Regions from separate parts of the Homo sapiens genome. Here regions 1 and 2 are each linked to region 3. The links are contacts of gene promoters, found by promoter capture Hi-C in blood cells and fetal thymus (Javierre and others, 2016). All regions are on one chromosome and are shown on one strand. The core of a region is centred on a gene start or on the middle of the fragment in contact, and the rest is flanking DNA. Distances in the headings are between cores, read along the strand shown.

Region 1 (4,591 bases), core at 1,994-4,493, 160 kb before region 3:
CAAGAGGCAAGAGAAAGTGTGTTTGTGTATGCACACTCGCATGTGTGTATGTATTTGTGTGTCTATGCCGTAAAGCAATAGGGTGTGAATGACAGAGTCAGACAATTAGGCTTGAAGCCTACCTGCACCACTGCCAAGCTAGATGCCTTTAGGCAAGTTGCTTAACCTCTCTGTGCCTAGATTACTTGTGTGCAAAGTGGAAGTAATAAGAGTACTTAGTTCATGTAGTCAGGAATAAATGATGTAATACATGCAAAGCACTTGGAACAGTGCCTGGACTCAGTTAGAACTTAATAAGCCTTAACTATTCATTTTGTCAATTCCATTTGAAGAACTGGGAAAGGCGATGTTTCCTCCTCCCTCCACAGACTTTCCACTCTCCCTCCCACACTGTGACCCTATATCGGACAGCAGCCAGCGCTCAGTGGCTTCTGCACCAGGACTCTGGAGACCAGAGTCCAAGCCCACCGCTACAGAAAATTTTCCTGGGTTTCCCCCTGGGGCCAGGCCTCTCTCAGGCCCTGCTTTTTCTCTCTGACCCTGGACTCATCATAAGACTTGACCTGAGATACAAGTATAAGAGAGAGGACAAAAGGGGCCTGGCAGCTCCCTGTCTGTTCACATGAGCCTCAGCTGCACCCGGCAGGAGAGAATTCCAACTCACCTCCCACCCACTGAGGCCAGAGCCCTGGCTGAGATTAATGCAGGATGAGTGGCCATTCAGCCTCACTGGACTTGACTCAGGGGCAAGAATCCCTTATCCATGAGCCTAAGCCCCACACCTTGACCTCCCCCATCATCCACGTTTGTGGGGCACAATCTCCCTACATCCCCAGGTAATATTTTCCCCAGGTGAGTGCCTCAAGGCCTTATGCAAGTCATGAGACCTCAGAAGAACTTTCCTGCCCCTCTCTGACCTGCCACCTGCACTCAGGAGGGGACTTCGGCCTATCTGGGGCAAAAACACTGTAATAGTAGCAAGAGGAGCCACTGTCATTACACCAAGCCCTGGGCTCGTATTAACTGGGCTCCCAGCCAAGCAAATAACCTGGCAGGAACCAGAAATCTAACAATATCAACTCTTGTTCCTGAGGCACTTTTCCTTTTTCAAAACACATTTTACATCAGTTATTTGATCCTCAGAATAAACTTGTGAAATACTACCGTCCCCATTTATAGAAGCAAAAGATGAGGCAAAGAGAAAAGCAGCCTGCCCAATGTCACACGAGTCTCCCGGGTCCTGTTTAGGGATCTTTCCATTGTACAGCCCTTCCTCACTCCCCAGAGCAGTGAGGAAGGGTGTCTGGTTCATTTATTCATGCCACCAATGTCAGATGTCTTTCTGTGTCTGGCCTTATGTTAGGTGCTGGTGACACAGTAGTCAACAAGACAGACAACCATCCTTGCCCTCCTGGAGTCCCCATTCTAGTGGAGTGACAATCCACTTGTTGACAACTGAATGAGGGTGAGTAGTGCAAGGAAAGTAAGATGATGGGGGACAAACAGATCGGATGGTCAGGAAACACCTCTCTGGGGAGATGACCCAGAGGACAAGAAGCAGCAGCCCTGGAAAGAGGACTTCAGGCAGACAAAGAGCAAATAAACATCCCTGAAGCAGGCAAGAGCCTGACATGTTCAAGGACAGCCAGTGAACAAAGCAGAGAAGAGCCCAAGGTCACTCCCAAGAGATGGACAGAGGCCAGGCTCTGTAGCCACGATGGGAGTTGAGAGCTCATTCCAAGAACAAGGTGAAGCCACTGAAGGATTTTAAGCAGGAGTGAGATGTGATCTGACTTATGCATTTTAAAAGAGATATTTCAGCTGTTGTGTTGAGAATGAGAATGGGTCACAAGGGATTGGAGTGGGTGGGGAGGGCAGACGGGAGAACGAGAAGGTCATGGCCATGGTGCCAAGGAGAAGTGGAGGCCTGGATGTTGCAGGCCTGGGACTAGGGAGGGAGGGCTGGCTGATGCACTGAACATGGGAATGCGGGACAGGCAGGACTGGAACAGCAGCCAAGGTGGGGTGGAGACTGGGCTCACCTGTTAGGAAGTCCCGGACCTGCTGGATTAGGAGCCGTGTGCGTCTGACATCTTCCTCCATCTGGGAGCGGCTGGCGCTCACCTGGGTCTCCAAGCGCTGGGCACTGGATTGAATCTGTGAGGCAGATTCCTCGGCTGCCCTAATCTGTTGACATACACTCTAGGTCAGAAGGGGTAAGGCCCCAAGGGAACCTCTCAGCAGCCCCACGATTCTGCGGATCATCCTCTATGCCAAGACCTACCTAGGAAGCATTTGTAACCAACCCAGCTTACATGTGGATGTTCAGTAAAAGAGAAAAAAAACTATCTTGCACTTGCTGTGGCACCTTAAGCAGGTCACCTAAAATCTCTGGACTTTAGTGTAAAATGGGAACTCTGACTTGCCCGGGGGATCTATCCTGTCTGCCTCCTCCTACCTGTGCCCACCCCGCCTCGGCTGCACTTACCATCTGCCTGGTCCGCTGGAGCTGGGCATTGAAGCCCCGCAGCTGCTCAGCCACCTGCCCCGCCATCAAGAAGGCCCCACCGGCCCTGGGAAGGACACCCCTGCAGCGGGAGCCACAGGCTGTGCCATTGTCTTGGGGACATAGCTCACCAGGGCATGATATTGGGGTGCAAGCCATCTGCCTGGAGTTGCCACAGAGCTGTGGACAGATGGCGGTGTTAAAGAGGCTACCCAAAGCCCCTCAATAACCAATCCCACCCCACACCTGGGAAACCAACAGCCAGACATCTCCATGACAACCAAGCACCAGAAACAGCCAGACATCTCCATGAGAGCTAAGGACCAGAAACTGGTTTCCTTGGCAACCACTGAGCTCACAGTGAGCAGTACAAGGGTCGGGATGGCTGGGGGAGTGGGGTTCTCACAGGGGCAGATCTGCCCTAATAGGAAGCAGGTGGCAGCAGTTGGTGTGTGACAAGCTGGGGTGTGGGCTCCAGGAAGTGGGACTCCATGCCCCAAGTCACCTTGTTGAAGGTGGGTGTCAGGTCAGGCAACGAAGACATCTCCAGCCTCAGGGCCACAAGCTTGGGGCTGCCGGTGCCTCCTCCTCCTCCCGCCTGCCGCACCAGCCTCTCTGCCTCTCTCCGGCTGTCCCTGAGCTGGTCCAAAAGGCGCGAGCTGTCGGAGACCTGCTGAGCAGCCTGGGCTGACTGCTCGTAGGCTGTGCTCAGCATCCGGAAGGCTCCTGTGGCGAGAAGCATGAGGAATGGAGATGGAGGAGGAGCAGGAGGGAGAGGGGGTGGCATGCCCACCACGGCAGTGCCCATGCCCGGGGTTATCCGGGTGCCCCTCTCCTCACCTGAAGGATCAGCACTGCTTATTTTTTCAAACTGCTCCCTCTTCCTCTGATACATAGTAAGGAGACCATTGAAGCTTCTGTCAAGACTCTCCAGGTCTCTCGGAAGGGACAACGTCTCCTCCTCCAGGGGCAGATCCAGCTGCAGGCCCTGGAGAGTTCGCCTGAGAAGGGAGAGGAGCTTACACTAAAATATAGGAGGGAGTTTTGCCTCCCCAAAGCAGCTATCCCCTCAGAGCAACTGCTACTGAGTCAGAACAAACAGAGACCTTGGGCAAAGGCAACAGAACAGAGAATCCACAGGCTAAGGGGGTTCCGCTGGACAGAGGCTTGGCGACCAGCACAATCTTTCTCTGTCCAGGTGCAGATGGAGCCACAAAACTCTCCTCCCTTGACTTCTATGACCCAACATTCCCAATTCTCCTCCCCCTCTTCCAGATCCTGGCTTCCATGAGGAGCAATGCCCTGATGCCCTCCTCCTTCGCTCTCTATGGGCTGGCTTCAGCTACCATCTGTACAGCTGCAGCTCCAAAATCTCTTCCACAGTCCACACCTCCCACTCAGCTCCAGATCCCATCACTGCTGCCAGCTGGTCATCCCCCCGAAGGAGGCTCAGAGTCTACCTCCCAGGCCCTTGGCCACTGAGCTCTTGGAGAGTCCTCTCTCCCTGTGCCCTTTGCAGCTCCACCAACCCAACCACCAGCTCCCTCCTCCAAGCCTCACATTCTCCACCTCCAGGCTTTGATCAGGCACAGAACGCCCTTCCATGGAATGCCCCTCCATGCCTGTGTTTCCAACCTACTGAATCTGGTGGACTGACTGCCCGAATCTGAGACTTAGGTCAGAAGGCACCTCTGTGAAGCCTGCCATGACACATTATAACATGCGTCACATTATAGTTTACCATTTACACATCATTCTCCCCAGTGCGAGCTTCTTGAGCGCAAAGATTATGTCATACTAATTTCAATATCCCCAATGCCTGTACAATGCTTGTTTCATCATAGATGCTCTAAAATTATGTAAAGAGAAAGAAAGAGAGAGAGGAAGGAAGGAAGGAAGGAAGGAAGGAAGGAAGGAAGGAAGGAAGGAAGGAAGGAAAAAAAGGGAAGGAAGGAAGGAAGGAAAAAAGAAGGAAAAGAAGGAAGGAAGGAAGGTAGGTTGGTTTTCAATATTCGCTTGAGTTCCTCTCCCGGAGCCCCCAGCCAGAAGCTCTAGCACATCGTGAGTCACGGAGCCTCCATTTTC
Region 2 (4,129 bases), core at 879-3,378, 230 kb before region 3:
CAACCCCTTTGATCTCGGTCCCCTCCCATTTCCTATGATCAGATGCTGCCATGTCCCTGGTGTGCCTGTATTCACGTAAATAACCATTTCCTAAATACACTCAATGAAAAATCAATTACATAGCAAAGTGGCTGAGGTTTGGATAAACAATCTAATTGTTCCCTCTGGGGCTGCAGGCTGAGCAGTCCCTGCTGAGAGAAGAAAGAGCGTTAACATTTATTAAGAGCTCCGCCTCAGGCACCGATATGTTTTCTTCCTCCTTGACCACTAGGGGTCTGAGCCCATTGGCCAAGCCCCCTACAGAATCCCAGGGAAGCTGCTGGTCTCATACCACTGGTAGAAGGTGAGAATTCTGTGTTCAAAGTACACCTCTAACCCAGGTAGACTTGAGACTTTGACCCCCAATAGTGCCTTTCAGATGCCTTACTCAAAGATAAACTCCTGGCTGCCTTCCTCTGATGGATTTGAGGATAGTCTCTCCAGAAGGGCCACCCTGTTTACACCCTGACTTGCCCCTCACAGTTCTGTTCCCTTCTACTCAAAATGTTGCAATTAGACGTCCCTTATTTTGAGTCAGGACACTGTCCCTGGTTGATATGCAAAGATCCCAGGAAGATGTATTCCATCAAAGCTTATCAATCATTAACACCTTGCTGTGAATTGGTTTTCAGGACTTTTCAACCAGACAGGTAATTAAAATTGAGCAATTGGCTAGAGAAGATGGAAAGTTCAAGTTTACATAGGGCACAGTAGGGGAAGGCTGAAGAACAGCAAAGTGGCCTCTGGCAAGTGAAGTCCTAAAATGAAGGTATGGTACTTCAAAAGCCTGAGTCGGAGTGGGGCTTATTTCCCCATCTTCCCTTCCAGCCCCCTCTTCCCCACCTTAGTTATTAAAGTCAGTCGTTTGTGGTGGGTCAGCTGGTGATGCTCAAAAAAATAAGATCTAGTTCCAAACCTGTGACTCCCAAATAATTACAACAGCAGGCAATGTGGCCTGTAGGAAGACAAAAGCACATCTACCAGTTCTGGAGTAAAGCGATCCAAGGTGTGACCATCCAACCATGGAAGTCATGGGATAACTGAAAGAACACCAAGCAAGGAGTCAAAAGACAAAGATTCTAATGCTGGTTCTGTCACATGTGTATTTGCTGCATGACATTGCCTAAGTTCCTTCCCCTCTCTGGGCCTTGGTTTACTCACCCATTGACTCAGTTATTCATTCAACTTTGTGCCAGCCTTGTGCCATGCCCTGGGGATGAATATAGTGATTAACAGATACCTTTCCTGTTCATATAAAGTTTTCAATCTAATATGAGAAATAAACGTGCAAGCAATAATTTCACAGATAATTGCCCTATAAGATGATGAAGTTGGTCTAGATCAGGGGCTTTCAACTCTGGCTATAGATTAGGACCAACTAGGGGCTTTTAGAAAAAAAAAAAAAAAGATGACTATCTGGGCATTATCTCCAAAGATGATTATTAAATTTGGTAGGGTTCAGGCATAGATATTTTTCTAATTTCCCCAGTGATTGTGGGGAACCAAGGCTGACAGCCACTGTGCAACCAGGGTTGAGAGCCACCAAGGTAGACAATATTTAGCATTTCCTCCTGCTATAACTTTTTATTTGTCTCTTATATTCTATGAGTAACCTAAGATACATATTCTCTTATATTCCATGTCTTATATTATATTCATATGTCTTATATTCTATGAGTAACCTAAGATACATATGTCTACACTGAACCCCAGAATGTAACTATCCTCTGGGGATGTCCTCTGGCTTCGTGTTCTCTGGCTTCATGTTCCGGCCCACAGGCTGGTACCTTGCTCCCTTAGAGAGACTGCCTGTGAGGGCTACCCTTCTGCCTGTCTCCAGAGTGTTCCAAATGTCAGCCACTCCCCAGGCCATCCCATCTGTGGGGCCACATCTCTGTGGCCACTCTCCTCATGCCAGTAGGCTCTGGATTCATGCTGGAACTTCTGGGCCCCTTAGACATGGGTTGAGCTCACTTGTTCAGAGAGCTCCATGCATCAGAATAAGAGGAGGAACTGACAGCCTAGCCTGTCCCTATAGATGCCCTGTGGCAAGACTCATTTCAGATCCCAAGACTTCTCTCATCCCTCCCTCCTGCCAGGGCTGGGATGAGGGGAAAACAGGAGGAACACCTAGGAGGTGCCCACCCTCAGGGTCGGGCAAGCCCAGATCAGCACCCAGAGAGGGGGTGCCTTCTTATATTTTGCACCCTGGTCCCCTCACTCACCTCATCCCTGTCCCAGTGCTGCCTCCTGCCCCAGGTTGCCATAAATATTGCAGGTCCCTATGAAAGACTAAAGTAGGACACTGTCAACCCCAAGGGCTCCATGAAGTTATTCTGTCACTCAGCCAGTATTTATTGTGTATCTCTAGGTTATAAACGCAAAGCAGACAGAGTTCCTGGCTGTCAGGAACTCACAGCATAATGGGGAAGGAAAACCTATAAGCAAGAAATAACACAAGACTGGCCAGACCAAGTCCTATAACAGAGTAACATGTGGAAGGCAGTGGAGGTTGGGATTCCTTACAAAGAGAGATGGTACGGAAGCCTTCAAGGAGAAGGCACAAGTTGACTATCCCTTATCCAAAATGCTTGGGACCAGAAGTGTTTTGGATTTTGTATTTATTCAGATTTGGGAATATTTGCATATACATAATGAGATATCTTGGGGATAGGACTCAAGTCTAAACATGAAATTCATTTATATTTCACATATATCTTATACACATAGCCTGAAGGTAATTTTATACAGTATTCTTAAATAATTTTGTTCATGAAACAAAGTTTTGGTTGTGTTTTGACTGTGACCCATCACACGAGGTCAGGCGTGGAATTTTCCACATGTGGCACCATATCGGTGCTCAAAACATTTCAGATTTTGAAATATTTTGGATTTTGAATTTTCAGATTAGGGATGTGCAACCTGTAGTAGGTTTACCTGGGACTTGGAACTAGGGAGAGAAAACAGAAAGCTGATAGCAGGCAGAAAACAGCATGAGTCAAGGTGTGGTGTGTTCTGAGGCTAGCAGATGGCTGGGCATCATTAGAGGGTGAGAGACTTGGAAAGAATGATGGGAGATGAGGTCACAGAGGAAGAAGACCAGATTTTAGAGAGCCTTGAATACCCTGTGGAGGAGTGCTGGGCTTTGATCTATGGTACACGGTGCATCTTGGAAGATTTTGAGGCAGAGGAGGAAGGTAATCAGATTTAGCATCACAAATAAAGAATTACATGTTGGGGGAAGTGGACAAGATCAGCAATGGGAAAAGCAATTGGGAGACCATTTTAACAACAGCTGGCAAGTAACGGCTGATTTTCTAAGTCAGGTGCATCAAATGCCAGAGGCTGTTATACTGTGGGCTGGAAAAGTGGACAGCACCAGGAAGCCAGCCCAGACAGGCACCCTATCATTCCACAAGCATCTGCCAAAGTGCTGGCTTCCGCAGAAAGAAAACCTAAAATCACTGGCTCAGATGTTCTCTGGGATGGCAGCCTGCAGAGACAATTGTTAGAAATGACATGCAAAACAGTCTCCATGGGTGTTGTGGCCCACATCCTGGGGTACCCTCAAGCTACCGCTGCTTTGACAAGCTTCTGTCGGGAAGAAAATCTCTTCTCTTCATCCCAGGAAGAAAAGCACCTGCCTGTTAGGTAGTTCTTCAGGTTGGGGATTAAAGGGCCCTGCTCTATCAGAGCCCCTAAAGAGGAATGTCCAAATCACTTTGAAAACTCCCTTCCTGCCCTATTCATCTGTGGCTTGAGGATTCCATGAGTATAAGATGCAGACACTGGAAACTTTAACTCTCCTAGAGTTCCCTGCTGAAATAAATCCCAGGTGTCTGTAATGAAAGTACTCATTTTGATGGTTCACTTTTCTCGATCCACACTGAGAACACCAAGCCCTGGCCACGGTCATCTCTCACCAGGCCCCTGCCTGCTACAGCCTCTGACTCATCTTCCCTGTTTTCAGTGTTGCTCTCGTTCCTCGTCCCTTTTTCCATGAATAAAGTAAGAATATGGTTTCTGAAGCACATCAGTCTGATCTGATCACATCCCTGCCTGAAATCCTTCCTGCTGCCTTCAGGATACA
Region 3 (4,327 bases), core at 859-3,358:
TCCTAGCATGCAGCACCCACATAGAGCAGGTATATTTACAAGGTTACCATGCAAGAGTGTTTGGCTTGTCTTCCATCACCCTGCTTTTCCTCTATCATCTCCTTCCTTCTATCTTTTATCCAGTGAAAATGAAAACATCTCCACTAAGAGGACTTCCTAGTATAGAAATGGCAAGTATGTACTATCTACCAATTTGCTACTAGCACCACCATTACCTATTTACATGCCCTTTGCATTTGTGGCCAACTGATCTACAGCATTGTGCCTTAGTGTATTCAAGACACTTGGAATTGGCAGTTGAGATGATTATTTGCCATCCCCAACCTAGAGATGATCATTTACTGAGTACCTTCTATATGGGAGGAGAGTTAAAGTCAGAGGGCCACAGCCGGCAGTGTGACTATCTCAGAGGAGATGCTGAGATCAGCAAAGTCATTCTGAGTCCTAAATCGGGTTCTGAGGTCCTTCTCCCAGGTGTTTAGAATGTCCCTCAGGCCTGGGAACAAACTCTCTGGGACACTAAAAGAATAGAGCAGGATTGGGGGTTGACCTAGCAACCATGAGATCCGGGCAGTGAATACTCGTAGTGGAGTCAGAGCTAAGCAGTTGTCATCTCCCTGGTTCAGGTGAAAGGTATAGGGAACAGGATAGCCCAGGAGGATCCCAAATACAGTACACAGATTCCAGTCTGAGGAATGGAGCCTGCTGTAGGAGACTGCTAGAGATAAGTCCCTCTGCAGCCCCTGCAAATGTGTGATGATCTCAGCCACGAGGGCCTTCAAGTCCTGAAGCTGGTCCAGGGAGCAGACAGAAGGGTGACGCTGGCAGCTGGAAACATCCACAAAGGCTATGGTACCAAGCAGCACCTGCTCCAAGTGCTGACATACATGCTCAGGACTGACAATCAGGCTGTTTTCTCCAATCTCAAGGATGTGAAGTCCAAAAGTCAGGAAGCCAAGCCCCTTCAGCTCCTCCAGATAGCTCTGGAGCTCTGATGCCCCTGCACAGTTGCAATCATAGAGCACAGCTGGCTTCAGTCCCCGGGCCACAGCCAGCACCTCTCCAGCTAAGTGAAGGCAGATGGCTTGGGGTGGACTCCGTCTCTTTCCCATGCCAAGGGTCTGCTGAGCAGCTGCCACCAGCAGCTGAGGGCTCGGTGATGACATGAGATCTAGAAGCAACATCAAGAATGGCCTCCTTAGCTAGCCCGAGTTCCCTTCCCTGGGTGGCATCTTTCAGCCAGACACTTGAGGAGGGGCCTAGAAACAAAGCAGGAGCAGGGAATTATTAACAGCCTTCCTGTTAAATCGCGGTATCTTCCAAAGGTTATTCTGTCCCTCCCTGCTTTGAAATGGCGACCCAGCCCAGACAAGATAGTTTCACCGATGCTGCTTGATTTTTCTGGTTGACTTGGTCTCCCTCAATCATAAATTCGTGTGTTTTTCTAGCCTTATAGCTAGATTTATATTCCCTCTGGCTTTTATTCTAAATTTCACCTGTTGCAAATTACGTTCTCTGGTTCAAACCGTAGGGAATTTGGGGCAGAGGCGGAGGCGGGGCAGTGTTTGGCAAAATTCACAGCATTTCGCCCAAAAGCCCTTCTGGGACAGAGCTCCAAGTTCCAAATGTATCCTTTCCACTGACAACTCCCCTACTCTTCCCGCCAGAGAATAGTTATAAGAATAGTAATTTGATTAATATACACCAGAATGTGGACTAACAACCATCTCACCCTGACACATAAAAATGAATGAATGAAATCCACTAGAACTGCAGAAGGGTAGTATTTTAACTTCTGCTGGCCCCGCCTTCCCTTTCTGTCCGACATCAAGGACCCTCGGAAGATGAGATTTCTCCGATCCACACACCCCACACCAGAGCATGTTATAGTGATTTGCTAAATGAGGCATAAGTCTGTCTCACATACGTTCTTTTTCCACGTCCGCTACAGGTTCGGGGGCTCAGAAACTTTTTGCGGCTTCCTGCCTGCTGCCAGAAAGGCAGCTAGTCCCCCACGCCCAGCCGCAAGTAACACTGGAAAACCCGCCTGCGCTGGGAAGACCCTCGCAGCCCGCTCTGCTCCAGTCCCGCAGGCACCTTCTTGCGCATGCGCACCCACTCGAGTGCCGCCCTCTTTCCCCCCATTCCGTGACGTCATCCAGCCGCTCGCGCGCCTCGCGTTAGAATCACTAGCTAGGCAGCCTTACTGCGCGCCGGAAGTTTGGGCCACCGTGCGGCCCGCCCTTTCCGGCCAGACTGAACGCGGCCCCATCTGTCGGCTTAGGAACTGGGAAGGGCGGAAGTAAACGAGAAAAGGCGGAACCTGGTGAAACTGGTTTCCCGCTGCTGCCCTCATTTTGCTTCGCCGAACGTCCTCCCTGTGTTATGACGTCTGGTGTCCCACTTGACTGGGAATCCAGAAACAGGGCACACAGCAGTTAATAAACACCTTTGATTTGTGTCTGTGGAAATACGTTTTGTCCAGACGAAACATACCTCAAGACAACATATTTTGCAGAATAGCCTCACCTGTGGGTGGTGCTGAAACGTTTTAATTTTTTTTAACTTGACTTCCCTAAATCCTACATTTGAGAGGCCTACAACAGCTCTCTAGGGAGGGTGTGAAGGTGTGAGTATTCACTTTGAACAAATATGTGCCAGTCATGCTGCTAGGCCCTGGAGGTACTGCAGTGAGCAAAACAGACAAAACCCCCACTTTCATGGGGCTTAAGTTCATGTCTACTGAATCCAGTTTGCTGATTTCAAATAAGAAATGAGAAGTGATGACACAGAGGCTTTCCAGTCAGGTCATTACAAAGAAAAAGTGTTATTTCACGTAAGAGTTAACACCTTTTTAACTACCAGCGATTTGACCCATGCCACGAAGGGAAAGGATTTCTTGAGAAAACCCCAATATCTAAGGAAATGGCCCCAATTTATTTATACTTGGAGCAGGACAGAGATTAAGGGAACAGTGGACACCTACACTGGAGTTGTCACTCCTGGATCTATCTTGGTGGTGCCTTCAGTCCATGAAAAGTGAATTGTACAGTAAAGATGGGGTCAGCATGGGAGGAGGACCAGCTTATAGGAGTTACCAGCCTAAGGCTGTCTGGTTCTTAGCTCAGAGGGAATCAGAAGCTGAGAGTAGAAAGTAGTCTTCTAATTTTAGAACGTTTTCCTTCCCCGCATTTATTTAATTTTCCCATGGTGGTTAACAGTAAATCCCTAAAAGACTGATTTAGTTCATTCATTTATTCCAGCAACAAATATTTGAGAACACACTGTGTCCCAGACACTGTTCTAAGGACTGGCAGCGAAGTCCAAGACAAACAGTCCCTACCTTCAGCAAGTTTGCAGTCAAGCAGGATGCGGATGCTGAGCATTACAAGGGAAATGATTATTCTGAGAGAGGAAGTATGGGGTGCTATGGGAACATACAACCAGGGACCTAATTTTATGGGAAAGGGACCAGCCCAGATCCAACACTTGCTCTCCCAGTTTACCTCCAGTAGGTTCTTTTTAACTTGAACTAATCTTGTTTGGTGGGGTACACAGTGAGGAAAAAGAAGAGCTAGTGACAAAATCTAACTCCCTTCTCAGTCTTAAGCAAGGTGAAGGCAAGGGAGTAGAAGATATCAAGGGAGTGAGTGGTGGTAGCCACCAAAGGAGATAGCAGACTGAGGCCCTAAAAAAAGAAAGGAAATCTAAATCTATCCAGCAGGACCAGAGAAAGAGTGCTGAGGGTGATTAGATGGAATCCCTGCATGTACTCTCCCGGCATTCTGAAAAGAAGCCAAAACAAGGAAGAAACCGGGGTATCTAGTTAAGACCTCACAAATCACTCATCCATTCCTCTGACATGTTCATAAACTTTTTATAGTGGTTACGAACCAAAAGCTTGGCATTTCTTGGCACTTTTCCAATACCCTTTACCAGCTCACATTATCTGGGCTCCCACCCAGGCTACAGATAGCCTGGCTGTTAGCACTTCACAGAAGGGATATAGACTGGCCCAGATTCAAGAGCTGCCCTTCTAATTTACCTACAGTGGGTTTTTAACTTTGAGTTCCCACGTAGAGATGGGGCAGCCAAATATCAAGCCCAAATCCCTCACTTCACCTACTCAACAAAATGACCCCCAAAATGTAAAGTTTCTGTGCCTTTAATGCTTCCCGGTCCCTAAAAGCCCAACTTTTCCTCGAAGCTGGGCACCTGACCTTTAGCCAGGTTTCTTAATCTTTTCATGCTTTTCATAATAGCAAATTCCACTAGGTCTCTTAGAAACTCTAAAACCAAGGCTTAAGCACTTTAAATAAATAAGTCC

Evidence for each region. The method cuts DNA at HindIII sites, captures the fragments that hold promoters and counts their contacts. A CHiCAGO score of 5 or more calls a contact.
Region 1: a fragment that was not itself captured here is called in contact with the fragment with the promoter of C1orf74 in region 3 in 1 of 17 cell types (neutrophils); the score reaches 9.0 in neutrophils.
Region 2: a fragment that was not itself captured here is called in contact with the fragment with the promoter of C1orf74 in region 3 in 1 of 17 cell types (monocytes); the score reaches 5.0 in monocytes.

The regions. Positions count from the first base shown.
Region 1 is chr1:209,620,494-209,625,084 of GRCh38, forward strand. LAMB3 (laminin subunit beta 3) reads right to left here. Exons shown (of 23, transcript NM_000228.3): 15 at 3,347-3,507; 16 at 3,012-3,232; 17 at 2,489-2,686; 18 at 2,043-2,187. MIR4260 (microRNA 4260) reads right to left here and starts at 3,017; the gene lies at 2,951-3,017. The HindIII fragment of the contact is 349 bases long and covers 3,070-3,418 here.
Region 2 is chr1:209,549,506-209,553,634 of GRCh38, forward strand. No RefSeq gene overlaps it. Among named protein-coding and RNA genes, the nearest start is that of CAMK1G, 32 kb to the right of the region's middle. The HindIII fragment of the contact is 2,999 bases long and covers 630-3,628 here.
Region 3 is chr1:209,782,451-209,786,777 of GRCh38, forward strand. It overlaps C1orf74 (chromosome 1 open reading frame 74), which reads right to left and starts at 2,109. Exons shown (of 2, transcript NM_152485.4): 1 at 1,928-2,109; 2 at 1-1,259. The coding sequence starts at 1,184. The coding sequence ends at 375. IRF6 (interferon regulatory factor 6) reads right to left here. Exons shown (of 9, transcript NM_006147.4): 9 at 3,167-4,327. RefSeq lists enhancers at 1,814-2,431, 1,988-2,247, 2,432-3,047. The HindIII fragment of the contact is 4,418 bases long and covers 1-3,898 here.